Regions from separate parts of the Homo sapiens genome. Here all the other regions are linked to region 5. The links are contacts of gene promoters, found by promoter capture Hi-C in blood cells and fetal thymus (Javierre and others, 2016). All regions are on one chromosome and are shown on one strand. The core of a region is centred on a gene start or on the middle of the fragment in contact, and the rest is flanking DNA. Distances in the headings are between cores, read along the strand shown.

What was found. Contacts are between HindIII fragments. The CHiCAGO score rates a contact against its expected background, and 5 or more counts as called.
Region 1: a contact is called between a fragment that was not itself captured here and the fragment with the promoter of CCT6B in region 5, in 2 of 17 cell types (neutrophils and fetal thymus). The highest score is 8.0, in neutrophils.
Region 2: a contact is called between a fragment that was not itself captured here and the fragment with the promoter of CCT6B in region 5, in 2 of 17 cell types (megakaryocytes and erythroblasts). The highest score is 6.3, in megakaryocytes.
Region 3: a contact is called between a fragment that was not itself captured here and the fragment with the promoter of CCT6B in region 5, in 2 of 17 cell types (neutrophils and fetal thymus). The highest score is 5.8, in neutrophils.
Region 4: a fragment that was not itself captured here is called in contact with the fragment with the promoter of CCT6B in region 5 in 4 of 17 cell types (M0 macrophages, endothelial precursors, M2 macrophages and 1 more); the score reaches 7.5 in M0 macrophages.

Annotation. Positions count from the first base shown.
Region 1 is chr17:35,545,019-35,547,718 of GRCh38, reverse strand. It overlaps SLFN14 (schlafen family member 14), which reads left to right. Exons shown (of 6, transcript NM_001129820.2): 6 at 1-2,700. Among named protein-coding and RNA genes, the nearest start is that of SLFN12L, 8.7 kb to the right of the region's middle. The HindIII fragment of the contact is 2,726 bases long and covers 56-2,700 here.
Region 2 is chr17:34,411,383-34,414,082 of GRCh38, reverse strand. It overlaps LOC124903986 (a long non-coding RNA gene), which reads right to left. Exons shown (of 2, transcript XR_007065722.1): 2 at 1,463-1,948. Among named protein-coding and RNA genes, the nearest start is that of CCL1, 50 kb to the right of the region's middle. The HindIII fragment of the contact is 3,355 bases long and covers 1-2,700 here.
Region 3 is chr17:35,591,474-35,594,173 of GRCh38, reverse strand. It overlaps AP2B1 (adaptor related protein complex 2 subunit beta 1), which reads right to left. Exons shown (of 22, transcript NM_001030006.2): 2 at 107-166. The coding sequence starts at 143. Among named protein-coding and RNA genes, the nearest start is that of AP2B1, 5.5 kb to the right of the region's middle. The HindIII fragment of the contact is 1,879 bases long and covers 447-2,325 here.
Region 4 is chr17:34,431,039-34,433,738 of GRCh38, reverse strand. No RefSeq gene overlaps it. Among named protein-coding and RNA genes, the nearest start is that of CCL1, 69 kb to the right of the region's middle. The HindIII fragment of the contact is 3,958 bases long and covers 1-2,700 here.
Region 5 is chr17:34,960,037-34,962,736 of GRCh38, reverse strand. It overlaps CCT6B (chaperonin containing TCP1 subunit 6B), which reads left to right and starts at 1,277. Exons shown (of 14, transcript NM_006584.4): 1 at 1,277-1,480. The coding sequence starts at 1,344. ZNF830 (zinc finger protein 830) reads right to left here and starts at 1,197. Exons shown (of 1, transcript NM_052857.4): 1 at 1-1,197. The coding sequence starts at 1,170. The coding sequence ends at 52. RefSeq lists enhancers at 904-1,153, 1,234-1,313, 1,364-1,583, 1,684-1,733 and a silencer at 1,453-1,747. The HindIII fragment of the contact is 8,368 bases long and covers 1-2,700 here.

The sequences.
Region 1 (2,700 bases), core at 169-2,668, 580 kb before region 5:
GGTCTCAAAAGTAGCCAATTGACTGGCACCTCATACTGGCTATGGGTCTCAAGCTTTCCAGGTCCAGAACTTGATTGCCTTTTTGTACCAAGTCTAGATCAGTCTCTTGGGGATGCTTTATGCTAATCAAGCTCACAAAGGACCAATGCATACATCAAAATGTTACTCTGTTAATTTATAGTGAGGACCATAGTCATAAGTGGGTCAAATGCTTTTGCTAATCAGTGCCCTCAACAGTAATATAGGAAGCCAAATTATATGAACATAGCCTTACAGTAAGGGAAGCTGGTAATTTGATTCAAATCTTAAAAATCTTCAGATTATATTAGACTATTGCAATATCTATTAGGTTGGTGCAAAAGTGCAAAAGCCACAATTACTTTTGCACCAACTTAATATAAAATAAGATTGCAATAATTTCTAAAATAAAGATATTTCTATCACAAGGACTAGACAAATTAGTTTACAGTTTACAAGCTAAAGCAAATTTAGAATGCTAAGGATGACTAGTTTTTCATTATTCTTTGCCCTCAGATGAATTTTTTTTTCTCTGTCTTGGTTTCTAAAATTTCCAGGTTCACCACCAACCCTCTCCTTACTGCCCCCAACATATACAAATTTTGCCTACATTTATCCTCTATGTATGTGAATACATTCATGTAGGCTAGAAATGCCTTATACTCTGCCGCTGGCCTGGAAAGTAGTCTTCCTACAAGGGGCCTTTGCACATCTCTGATTTCTTCCATTATGACTTGGTGCTAATTTTTAAATCCAACTCTCAGAGTTTATGGGGATCCTTGGTGGCAACTTTACCACCAACACCACCCACACACATCCCCGACTCCTGGTCTGTGCCTGTGCCATTTTCTCAGTCTTTAAACCCTTTTCTGTCCCCTCCACCTTTGAAATCCTTACTTGGCAATCACATCCTTTTTCAAATGCCTACTACCTCAATTAAACTTTTATTATCTCCCTAAGTGAAACTTTCCAATGTATATGATACATATTAGAAATGAAATCAAAGTTCCCCTTTTCTAGTCAGTTCCCCAAATGGCTGAGCCAATTCTGTACTCTTCAAATTACTCTTGCTTTTGCAAGGATTTTTAAATTGCTTTGGAAGTATTCATATTTCCAAACTGTTTTTAACTTCTAGAAAAGTTTAGGATAACTTGATTGACTCTGGGGAGGCTTGAATCCAGGAGACATGTGGAAATTTTGGTTATGATTTTAGATAAAGCCCCTCAGCCTTCCAAGAGGTGGAAGAGCAGGCAGGGTTTCGAGAAGCTCTCTTAGCTGCCTTTCTGAATTGCTTAGGCCCATTAGAAGGGCTAGTCTGTACCTAGGCACGGGTTGAAAAGAAAAACCTCTCCCTTGCTTCCTACTGCTCTAATTACCTGGTGTTTCTTCCTTTTTACCTTTCCTTGGGGGCTTTAGGGTAGTTTTGGATAGGAGGAAATGAAGTTCAGCAATCGGTTTTGCAAAAGATGCCAGTGCATTGACATTCTGATGTAGGGAGATGTATGAATTCTATAAAAATAATTTAAACAGTCAAAGTCAACAGAGTATGAAGGAGTATGAGTGGGACAAGGAATTGCTATATTTTAGTCATAAGCCTTAGTACCATTTGACTTTTTAAAATATATGCATGCATCATATAATTTTTAATAAAAGAATTGATTTGTAAAGAATTGTTTTAAATATTGAATTTGAGAGTCTTTGTCAGTTCTTAGTCTAGTGAAACAATTCAATCAGGATGAAAGTAGAATAACTAACTCAGTGATTCTCAACCCTGGATGCTCATTATAATTTCCTGGGCGACTTAAAAAAAATCAGTGATCAGGCCAGACACCAGACTAATTAACCTCAGTGTGTCTGAACACAGGCTCGGGCATCGGTATTTATTAAATGTTGTCCAGGCAGGGTGCAGTGGCTGGTGCCTGTAATACCAGAACTTTGAGAGGCTGAGGTCTGGGGGAATCACTTGAAGCCAGGAGTTGGAGACCAGCCTGGGCAACATAACAAGACCCCATCTCTACAAAAAAAATTTTTTTAAAAACTTAGTTGGGCATGGTGGTGCATGCTTTTAATCCTAGCTACTCCAGAGGCCAAGGTGGGAGGATCACTTGAGCCCAGGAGTTTGAGGCTACAGTGACCTATGATTACTCCACTGCACTCCAGCCTGGGTTACAGAGCAAGACTCTATCTCTTAAAAAAAATCCAAATGATTCTAATATGTCACAAGGGTTGAGAACCATTGAACCCTTCTCCTAGTCTGTTCTTTCTGTCCTCAAAAAATGTGTGCACATTTCTCTTCCTATTAAGACTGTGAGCTCCTTGAGAGTAAGAGGATGAGTCACTTACACATCCTTATTTCCCCTAGAGCAACTAGTACAGTGCCTCACACAGGGCAGGTGCTCAGTAAATATTTGCTGAATTGTACTTGTAGCTTTTAGAAAACTAGAATCTACAATGATTCAATTCGATAGTATGAATTTCTAATGTTAGAGATTTCAAAGAAGTCAGTGTGGAGAATAATCTTTAACACTGTAATAATGAAGAATAAGGGAACAATAAAGGCAACTCAATTGTTTTTAGGCAACAGGTCAAATTAAGGATCTATGATGATAGTTCATTAGATTCAAATGTAAGATTAGGAACTGGTGGGGACTAAGAATAATGGACTAACTTGGTTGTTTTAGA
Region 2 (2,700 bases), core at 95-2,594, 550 kb after region 5:
GTGTTCTTTCAGGAAAGAACACTCTGCAATGAATAAGATATGAACTATATAAAATAACAAGAATCCTTTCCAGTTTAAACCAGCCTTCAGAATAATTCTATTCACACAGCATACGGCACAACATGAGCATTTTTACCCAGGGCAAACGGCCTTGCATGATTTCAGCAAGGAAGTGAGGCTGCGCGTGGCAGAGGAACGGGGGAGGAGCGGTTTGTGGGAGGGTGGTAGTGAAGGGAAATGTCAGGGGTGAGTTGGTTCTGGGAAGGCAGCCACTGGGTTCTGGGTCCCATGAAAGAAGTATCCTAGGCTATAGACTGCAGATCTATTGGGATGGAGAACACACACACACACACACACACACACATACGCACACACACACACAAACACACCCCAGATCTATACGGTCACAGCCTGTGCAATGCCATTCCCTCTCCCTAGAACAATGTTCTCCTCCATGTTTGCCCCACCTGTGACTTATCCTAATCCTGCATATGAAGATCTGTAGTGACGTCTAGGCCCCCTCCCCTTTCTATATGACACCCTATCTATACCTCTTCCCACACTTGATCATTTTGCGTATGTGTGTGTGTGTCTGTCTGTCTGTCTATCTTCTCATTTGACAACAGAGCCCTCCGCAGTAGGAAGCATTTCTTTCTCATCTTAATATCCTTAGCATCTGGTGTGTGGTCAACACTCAATGAATGTTGAATGAATGACTAAAATTAGCATCCAGCCTATCATGAAACCTTAATGAACATTAAGTGAATTAAGCCCCATCCAAAGTCTCTTCTTTATCAATATCCAGGAAGGCCTTGGATATGCACACTAATGATGACTATGCATATTTCATAAAACTGTTTCCAGAACCTACCACGCCCCCCGTATTAGTCATGTATAGTAGCACAGTGTTATTCTATTGTGTTAACACATTTCCCTTTGCCTGGTCAGCCCCTTCTTGTTTGGCCTTTGTGTTGTTGGCAATTTATAGTTATTATAGAAATAATGCTGCTATAGATGTGTTTTTCTTTCTTTGGAGCTAACACTGTAGGATTTTTTTTTAACCAAAGAAGGAATTACCGGGTCAGAGCCTCTCAACAGCAGTGTGGCTCTCATTCATGTTGCCTGATTGCTTATGGAAATTTGTCCAGTCTTTCTAAAAGGCAATGCTGAAGGATGTGTTTCCACTGGCTGCCTATCCTGGGTTTTATCATACTTATTTTTGTGGCTTTAGTAGGCATGTAACAGGACCTGAAAGTTGCCTGGATCTAAATTGTATTTTATAGCTGGCAAGACCGCGCCTATTTCCACGTGGTGATTTACTATCTCCATTTCCTGGTTTAATTTTGTTCATCTCCTTTGACCACTTATCAGGAAGAATCACATAACGGCCTATCCATTATCTGTTTTGGGCAGTAAGCAGGCCTGGGAGGGAGAATGAGACAGACGTAACGGATGCCGTAGCTTTCCTTTTGGTATTTATTTTTATTACATTGCAATGCAAACATTTTTATTCTCACATATTTGAACCCATCTATCAGAGCCCTGATGGTATCTTTTTCTTCAATAGCCAGGAATTTATCTCCTTATCAGCAGCAGGGGTAACAATGCCAGTTCCTTGTCTCCAGGTTTGTCACAGATTAGCAGTACGATATAGCTGAACTTGACAGGTATGCTGTATGAATTTAAATTAACTCTCCCCTGGCCTGTTAGCCAACTGTCCCCGCGATGCTTATTAAATACCAATCTCTTTCTCCAATATGCTCCTTGGCTGGCCTAACGTTGGTTTTGCCAGAATTCAAATCCATCTCAGGAATCTCTCTTCTGGTGACCTTTGTGGTTTTTAACTCAGTACAGGATGGTTTCAGTGATTGACAATTCACATCTTAATCACTCAGGAGGGATCAGCTATCACTGCCATTAAAAGACAAATGCTTTGATGGTTCTTTACCTGGAAGAATAAGCATCCTACACTCAGAGCTGTCAAATTCTATTAAAGGACTCAGAAGAATTTACATTGGTATTGCACTAACTCTATATATTGACTTTGGAACATAGCATATGTACTTAGGGATTACAATTAGACCAGAGCTGGAAAGCTCCCCAAAGACCTCAGAGCTTTAGACAAGGGAAAAACTCAAGTTTTCTTCAAATGAGTCTGGCCTGGGGAATGTCCCAAGGCTGATCCTTCTCTGTAATGTCATTTTTCTCCAGCCTTCCCCCACCCCCATCCCAGGAAATTGGTTTCGATATCCAGAGAGAGAGAAAACCAAAAGGGAATCTTGACTGTACTCTAAAAGTCCCGTGGTAAATATGTTGGTGGGAGGGTGATGGGTTGGGCAGAGGATGACAATAGAAGATTCACAGCTCCTTCAGTCAGTCTGGAGCTCACAGAACATGCTTTCCACCACTTCAGTGCCAGTATTTTCAATTCCCTTGGCTCACTGTCCTTTGGTTTTGCTCTCCTAGCAAAGCCCCAGATCAGAATCTATCCAAATGTCCAGCACCGCCTCAGTCACACCTGGGCTGCTCAGCACTCTCAAAGGAAGATCACACAGCCGCATGAACTGCTGCTGCAGAAAGTGTGCAGCGTCCAAGCTCAGTGAGGCTGGGGATCCTCTGGTGCTTCCACCATCCCCATTCTCTTCCCAACCCTGTCTTTCGTTTCTCCTCCCGGTCACACTGGGATCCTTGCACATGTGT
Region 3 (2,700 bases), core at 137-2,636, 630 kb before region 5:
GCTACATGTATGTCTGAAGGAAGAGGTCAGCAGCATTCTGCCTGGGGCAATCTTACACTACAACTTTTGAAAATTTCAAAAGATTTGATTGTATTCTCATACTTACCTTTTTTATTGGTTGTGAAATACTTGGAGTCAGTCATGACTTTGGATCTTTAATGTGCACCTATAGCAAGAGAAAAGAATTCCTTCATTCAGGTTATAGATATCCAACAAGGCATCCAATTAATTTTAAGAACATCCAATTAATTTTAGGAACACTTATATTTAAGAATTTCTAAAAATGAGTATCATCTTCCTTTATCACCACCGTTGATGGTTCAAGAAAAACTAAGAATGTAACTCCTCAAGCTAATGGGGCAAAAATCTAAAGGCCAAATGCAACTGGGTAAAAGTATGAACCTATTATGGCTTTGTGATTTTATCCACAGTAACTCCTCAAAGCTTTCAAGAGCTAAAGCTGGACCTTTTTATAAATATATCTGCAATTACTTTCCATTCAGGAAAATCTGGTAACTTCCTTGCCTCAAGCTGGAATCACTCCAAAACATATATTCTGAAGCAGTGTAAGGTCAAAAGAAAAAACAATTTTGCCGATCTATGACATGAAACTTTCAATAAAAAGAATCTCTTTCAGAAAAAAAAAATTCAAAATTAGTAGGACAATATTCTTTCACAACAAACATCTAGAGAGGCAACCATGACTTATGCATGGAATTTTTTTAATTTTTAGTTTTGTGGGTATTTAGTAGGTGCGTATAGGTACATGAGATATTTTGATAACAGGCAGACAATGCATAATAATTACATTAGTGTAAATGGGATATCCATCACCTCAAGCATTTATCCTTTCTTTGTATTATAAACAATTCAATTACATTCTTTTAGTTATTTTTAAATGTACAGTAAATTATTGTTGACCGCAGTCACCCTTTTGTGCTATCAAATACTAGATCTTATTCATTGTATCTAACTATATTTTTGGATTTAAAAAAAAATGTGGCTTTCTTACTTCCAACAATCCAGATTTAGCCCAAGAGTATTCCCAAATAATGCCAGTTTATAGTTAAAAACAAGGCAAAAGACTGAGACATCCGTTCAGACACGAGAATCAAACTGGTGTTGAAACAAAAGAACGTGGATCTCAACCTCAACCTTAACTCTTCCATCCCAATTTCCAGAAGAAGTAATCCAGATGACAAATGGCTCTACTAACAAAAACGGCACAGTCTGGTCACATTTTTACTAAATAATAAGACTACTTTTTCTGATTTGAGAAACTATAAGACTTTGTCCAATGTACCAGACTTCTTTAAATATATTAAAATTTTGGGGCCAGGCACAGTAGCTCACGCCTGTAATCCCAGCACTTTGTGAGGCTGCCGGGTGGATCACTTGAGGTCAGGAGTTCAAGACCAGCCTCGCCAACATGGTGAAATCCTGTCTCTGCTAAAAATACAAAATTTAGCTGGGCATGGTGGCACGTGCCTTTAATCCCAGCTACTTGGGAGGCTGAGGCAGGAGAATCGCTTGGACCTGGGAGGCGGAAGCTGCAGTAAGCCGAGATCACGCCACTGCACTCCAGCCTGGGCAACAGAGCAAAAGTCCATCTCAAATAAATAAATAAATAAATAGGAATTTGGGCCAGGCGCGGTGGCTCAGGCATGGTGGCATGTACCTGTAGTCTCAGCTACTTGGGAGGCTGAGGTGTGTGGATCGCTTGAGCTTAGGAGATCAAGGCTACAGGGAGCTATGATCTCACCACTGCACTCCAGCCTCAGCGACAGAGACCTTGTCTCAAGGGGAAAAAAATATATAAATATACATATATTTTTTAATAATATTCCTTCTGTACTCAAAATGAGTATCTTTTTCCTTATCACCATCACTAATAATACTTATCACCAACTTCAGGACAAGACATGCTGGCACCTGCTCATTATTATCAGGTCAATATGACATAATGTATTTGGCAAACAATAGTAAATATGGATCTAGGAGAAAAGACCTAAGCACCAAACAAATCAATGTAATTAAAGAAAAGAAAAAAGAGCCAGATAAACATAAAATAATGAAAAACTTCTGGTTCAAATCTGATCTCTAAAACGTGCTACTTGTACAGTTTAATGGAAATTAGACTCATTTGCTATCTTTCCAACCAGCTAATTACTATTTATAGTCTTGATCCTAATAGCTCTTTAGATTGTACCAGAAATTCACAGAATGATCTTGTTAAAAGAAGTGAGCTAGGACTCACAAATATCATTACAGAATATAGAAATTTCTCCTTTAATACTTGTTATAATTAAAAATTATACTGAAGCTTGCCTTATGCAATGTTTTTACAATGTGTTTCTAGCAAAAATTCAAAGAATGTTATAATCATTTAGTCCATTCATAATGTAAACTAAATGTGAAGTGGGCAAATGAAGAAAGGAATTCTTCACATAAAAGACCTGGAATAAATCTGAAGTTATTTATGAATGTATATATACAAACAGAAAAACCAGTAAACAGAAACGATTACTTGAGCCTCAAAGAAGGACTATAGCTCAAATCCATTACAATCTGTCTAGGATATTTACTATGCTATGCTATGTCCTTTAAAACTTGTTTAAGATTTTAAAACAAAACCTCCTTAGAATTTGTCACCCAATTTCTCTGAAAAGCCTCTTATACATACACATATTAAATTTTTTT
Region 4 (2,700 bases), core at 148-2,647, 530 kb after region 5:
AACACAGCATCTGGGTGAAGCTCGAAGACTTACGAGACTGCATATTTTGTAGGAATTAATATGGGTTTAACTTCGGCATTCCAGTGCTTCGTGCCAAAGTTTTCATCAGCTTGTGGAGAAATGAGAAAAACATGAGTGAGTCTTTCATAAAGTTAAATTTATTCATTATCAACAGGATTGTCCTTTCCCTGGAGTTATATCTTTCCTGCTTTCTTGGTTTGAAAATATCCTGTCACCCGTGAAAAGATAGTGATTATAGACTTGAGATGATTTCTCGGGTATCTACACTTAGAACTGCATAAAGCTGGTAATGCTATGTGAATCCTCCAATTTTCTCTTTAAAGATTTTGCTGCACCCATCAATGTATAGTAACAAACCTGCATGTTCTGCACATGTATCCCAGAACTTAAAAGTATATACATAAACCACAACAAACTCCTTAGCTTGTTAACTGTCATCTCATTCACACTTATGACTTTTATTTTCTTCCTTCTCCATTCATACCAATGATGTATCTGTCAACCTCCTTTTTTGCTGTTACAAAAAAAAAAAATTGCTGAACTACAGAATCCTCTAGTCTGAGAACCACGGGGCTGTACTTTGTCAGTTATCATTTATATCAACTCCTTTCCCAATCTTGGGACTTTTTTTTTTTGTTTGCTTTGTACAGATAGTCTTTGAAATTCAAATACCTCAATCTGTGTTTAAATTTAATAATCTTTAAAAAATGTTCATAAGGTAACATATATTATATTCCACATACCTGGTAATTTGGGAGAAGGAGACATTTCTTTTACAAGATCATATCTTTTTGCTTTTCTGTGTCTGTATGATGACTTGGTTTGAAGCATGTTCAGTCCTATAAAGACTCCATACACAACCCCATAGGCTCAAATTAGGTGATGAGTGTGAAGGGGAGGTGGGTGTGAAGAGGAGGGGGGTGTCTTAGCTCAGGCTGCCATAACAAACTTCTGTATCCTGGGTGGCTTAAACACCAAACATTTGGCCGGGTGTGGTGGCTCCTGCCTGTAATCCCAGCACTTTGGGATGCCAAGGCGGGCCAGATCACCTGAGGTCAGGAGCTTAAGACCAGTCTGACCAACATGGCAAAATCCCGTCTCTACTAAAAAAAATACAAAATTAGCTCGGCGTGGTGGTGGGTGCCTGTAATCCCAGCTACTCTACTTGGGAGGCTGAGGCAGCAGAATTGCTTGAACCCAGGAGGCAGAGGTTGCAGTGGGCCGAGACCATGCCACTGCACTCCAGCCTGGGCAAAAAAGAGTGAGACTCTGTCTCAAAAACAAATAAACAAACAAATAAACAAAAAAAAAACCCCAAACATTTATTTTTCACAGTTTGGAGATTGGAAGTCCTAGCTAGAGTGCCGCAGGGCTGGGTTCTTGATGAGCGCCTTATCCTTGTTTATAGACAGCCATCGTCTTGCTGTGTCCTCACATGGTGGAAGGAGAGTGAGCTCTTTGGCCTCTTCCTATCAAGGCACTAATCCCATTCATGAGGGCTCCACCCTCATGACCTAATTACCTCCCAAAGGCCCCACCTCCAAATACCATCACACAGGGATTAGGGCTTCAACATAAGTTGAAGGGGGTGAGTTGGCGGATGGGCACAAATATTCAGTGCATGGCTGGTGAAAGAGTGGAAGGGTAGAAGGATGGAAGAGAAAGATGATGAATTCCCAAGGTATCCTGAGACAGCTCAGATACGGGAAAAGCAAAATCATGGGCAAGAGGCTGCCAAATGTCTAGGGCTGGGAAGGTCAATGATGAGAGCCAAGTTCAAAAAGCAAGGTAAGGAGGATGTGTTAGAGAGATCAGTCATGGTGGATGCTAAAGGGATCCATGAAAGAGTGTTAATGGAGAGTGAGGAGTGCAGGGGCTCCCATCCGCTATGGCCTTCCTACATTACTGGTGGACGGTGCAAGGTCAGAAGCCTGGGTGCAGAGGCTGCATGTGCTCCTGGGCAGGGTAGGGGCTATGACCTAGTAACACTAGTAACAATAGTAGTTAGGGATATGACCTAGTAACATTAGTAACACTGCTATGTTACATACGATGGGAGCCCAGGCTAGAGTGCAGTGGTGCGATCTCAGCTTACTGCCAGCTCCGCCTCCTGGGTTCACGCCATTCTCCTGCCTCAGCCTCCCGAGTAGCTGGGACTACAGGTGCCCGCCACCATGCCTGGCTAATTTTTTGTATTTTTAGTAGAGACAGGGTTTCACCGTGTTAGCCAGGATGGTCTCCATCTCCTGACCTTGTGATCTTCCCACCTTGGTCTCCCAAAGTGCTGAGATTACAGGCGTGAGCCACCGCGCCCAGCCCCCTATTTCCTTCTTTCTGTTGAGAGAGTTTTGCTGGGGAAAGAACTGCAACCTTGCTTCTCACTCTCCACTTTTCCTTTCCCTCCTTCCACCACAAAGGAAGAGGAGTTGTAAAGTGACAGGTCAAATTCTGGACTCTCCTGGGAACATTAGAAAGTAGGCAGATATGCTGCCACCTAGGTGTAACATTCCCTGTGGGGCTGCATGTGTCTTTGTCTTAAACTGCTCAGACTGTTGTCACTAAGTGCCAAAGACTGAGTGGTTTAAACCTTAGAAATTCATGTCTCACAGTTCCAGAGGCTGGGGAACCAAGGTCAAGTTCCTGGCTGATTTGGTTCCTGGCTTGCAGACGGCAGTCTTC
Region 5 (2,700 bases), core at 28-2,527:
CACTTTTTATACAACAGCAGAGGCTGTTAGAAACCTTGGGTCTTTAAAACCCTATAACAATGCCCCTTTCACCCTCCAATCCTGAGACAACAAATCCTGTAGTTCCCCCTCATCATCGCTGTCAGCATTCTCTTCTTCCTTTTTCTGCAGTTCTTTTATGGTCAGGATTTCTTTAAGTTTATTTTTTATTTCATCCTGGCGATTCCGTAGCTTTTCCACCCGTCGGTAACACTCTATCTGCTCATCGATCTCCCCAATCTGGCGGTCCAACCGTCCCTCCTCATCCTCTTCGGCAACTATGGCTTCGGAAATAGTGTTGACCTGCCTCATGGCTTTTTGGAATTCGTCCCACTCTTTGTCCATCTGATCTTTTGGAGCATCAACCTTTCGTACTCTTGCATCTACCTCAGGGTCGTCAAAAAAACCTTCCGGTAACGCTTCCGCGGTGTTTTCTCTCCTTTCCACCACTTTTTCATGTATTTCTGCTTTCTCAATTGACCCTGAATGAGGAATTATGGGGGCCTTGGGAGGATTAGTACTAAAGAAATCGTTTGGCAGCACACTACTTGTTACCTCCCGTGAAGAGGAAACTGAGTGCTCCTTGCCCTGTGCGTCGGAGAGCGGCTTGCTGGCGTCCCCCCTTTTTCTTTCTCCATCTCCTTCCTCCTCCTCTTCCTCCTCCTCCTCATCTTCATAATCGGGGAGTAAACTGAGTCCTGAAGGCTTACTGGGAGTCGCTCTAATGAACTCCTTTCCTATTTTGTCAAAGTTGGTGGTCCACGCAGATGTGGAGGGCTGTACCTGAGGCACCAAGGTGGCCTTCGCTCTCTTGACATCTTGGTCGTCTGCGTCCGGCGCTTTCCTCTTGACGGAATGAGGCGCTGAACTGGCGGACGAACCCTGGCTGGCTTCCTTCGCGCCTTTCAGCTCGGCCACTTTCTCTCGGTGCTGCTTTCCCAGGACGTGAGTCTGCCACAGGAGCTCGCTCTTAACCGGAGTGTTACACAGGGCACAACTCAGCTGCCCCAAACGGTTGTACTTCGCGAATGGAGATTCTATCCGTTTCCGACTGGTGCTCAGACGCTGCTTCTCCTTCATTAACCGCCGCAATTCTTCCTGATTTATCACTCGCTTCCCTGCCGGAGTCCGGGCGGAGGCGGAGGACGCCATCTTGGCGACCAGACCCAAAACGATTCTGGTTTCCGTCGGGCGAGGCATGATAACGTCACTTCCTGTAAGGGCGATGATTGGCCGAGGCTCAAGAGAGCGTGGCGTCGCATTGCCGTTTTTGCTCAGAATCGCGACTAAGGCTTTTTTTTTTTCTCCCTCTGAACGGTTAGGCTATGGCTGCGATAAAGGCCGTCAACTCCAAGGCTGAGGTGGCGCGGGCCCGGGCAGCTTTGGCTGTCAATATATGCGCCGCCCGAGGGCTGCAGGATGTGCTGCGGACCAACTTGGGTCCTAAAGGCACCATGAAAATGTGAGACAGCGGTTGGAGCGGCCATTACGCGGCTAGGGGCCCGTTGGTGTCCTGTCGCCCTCTGAGGCAGGCGTCCGCGTAGCGCTGTGGATGTTCTTGCGAGCTTGATTTCCCTCATTCTCATCCCTGCTCTGGGGGTATTTCTCGCCTGGTGCAGGTGGAGGAGAAAAGCCTCCCCTAGTAGAGGGCCCCGGGAGTGAAGCTGTGGCGCTTCCCCGACCCCCGACTTGTCGTCAAGGTTCATATGCAGTTAGAAAGTCAGTTAATTTAGTGTCTCATTGGAAACAAAGCATTTAACTCCTCTGCTCCTTAAGACTGTATACCCTTGGTCCATAAATTCAACAAGTAGTTTTGTTTTTTGTATGGCAATGTATTGTAGTGGAGAGGACACAGGCTTTGGAGCCAGGAAGGCATGGGGTCAAATCCAAGTTCTACTTGAATACCCCGTGTCTATGGTTGTTCAGATCTATTCATCTTTTCAGTATATATTAAGCACCCTTTTCTATAGACAAGAGTGAGGAAAAGAGACCAGTGAGGGCAAAAGGGTATAAGAGGAGAGACACATCCTCATAGTAATGAACAAAATAATATTAATGGTAAAATAAGTCACTTAGGTACCAGTTGTTGGGACACAGAAATGATCAAGATAACGGTTTCTGTTCTTAAGGAGATGTGGTAGAGACGGATGTGGTAGAGTAGGATGTGCTAATTATATATAGATGCATATAATTATGCTGAAGAAAGGGACTGATGGCAGAAGGAAAAGCATCTTAAGTAACATGTTTGATCAGTCTTGAAAGAAGAATAAGACTTCACTAGTTGGAAGAGGGAGTAAAGGCCTGGGCAAAGTAATTTCAGGAATAAGAAAGACCAATGGTGCAAATCCAACAGAAACGAAACAAAACATGGTATATTAAGGGAACCAGAAGATTTGCTTGTGGAAAAGTAGATGAGGCAGGGAAGATATTGGGAAAGGTCAAGTATGTCATTGCTGTGTTTGGATTTTAACTTGAAAATGATGGAAAACATAAAAATCATTGGAGGACTTTTGATCAGGGAACTGACTGAATCACGTTGCCTTTTAGAAAGAAAAATGTGTGGAGGGTATATTTAAGTTTGGAGATATCCGGATGCCATCCAAAGTAGAGATGATAACAGTGGAGATGGAGAGAAGGTGGCAGATTCAAGAGATATTTAGGTAGTAGAATTGATAGAACTTG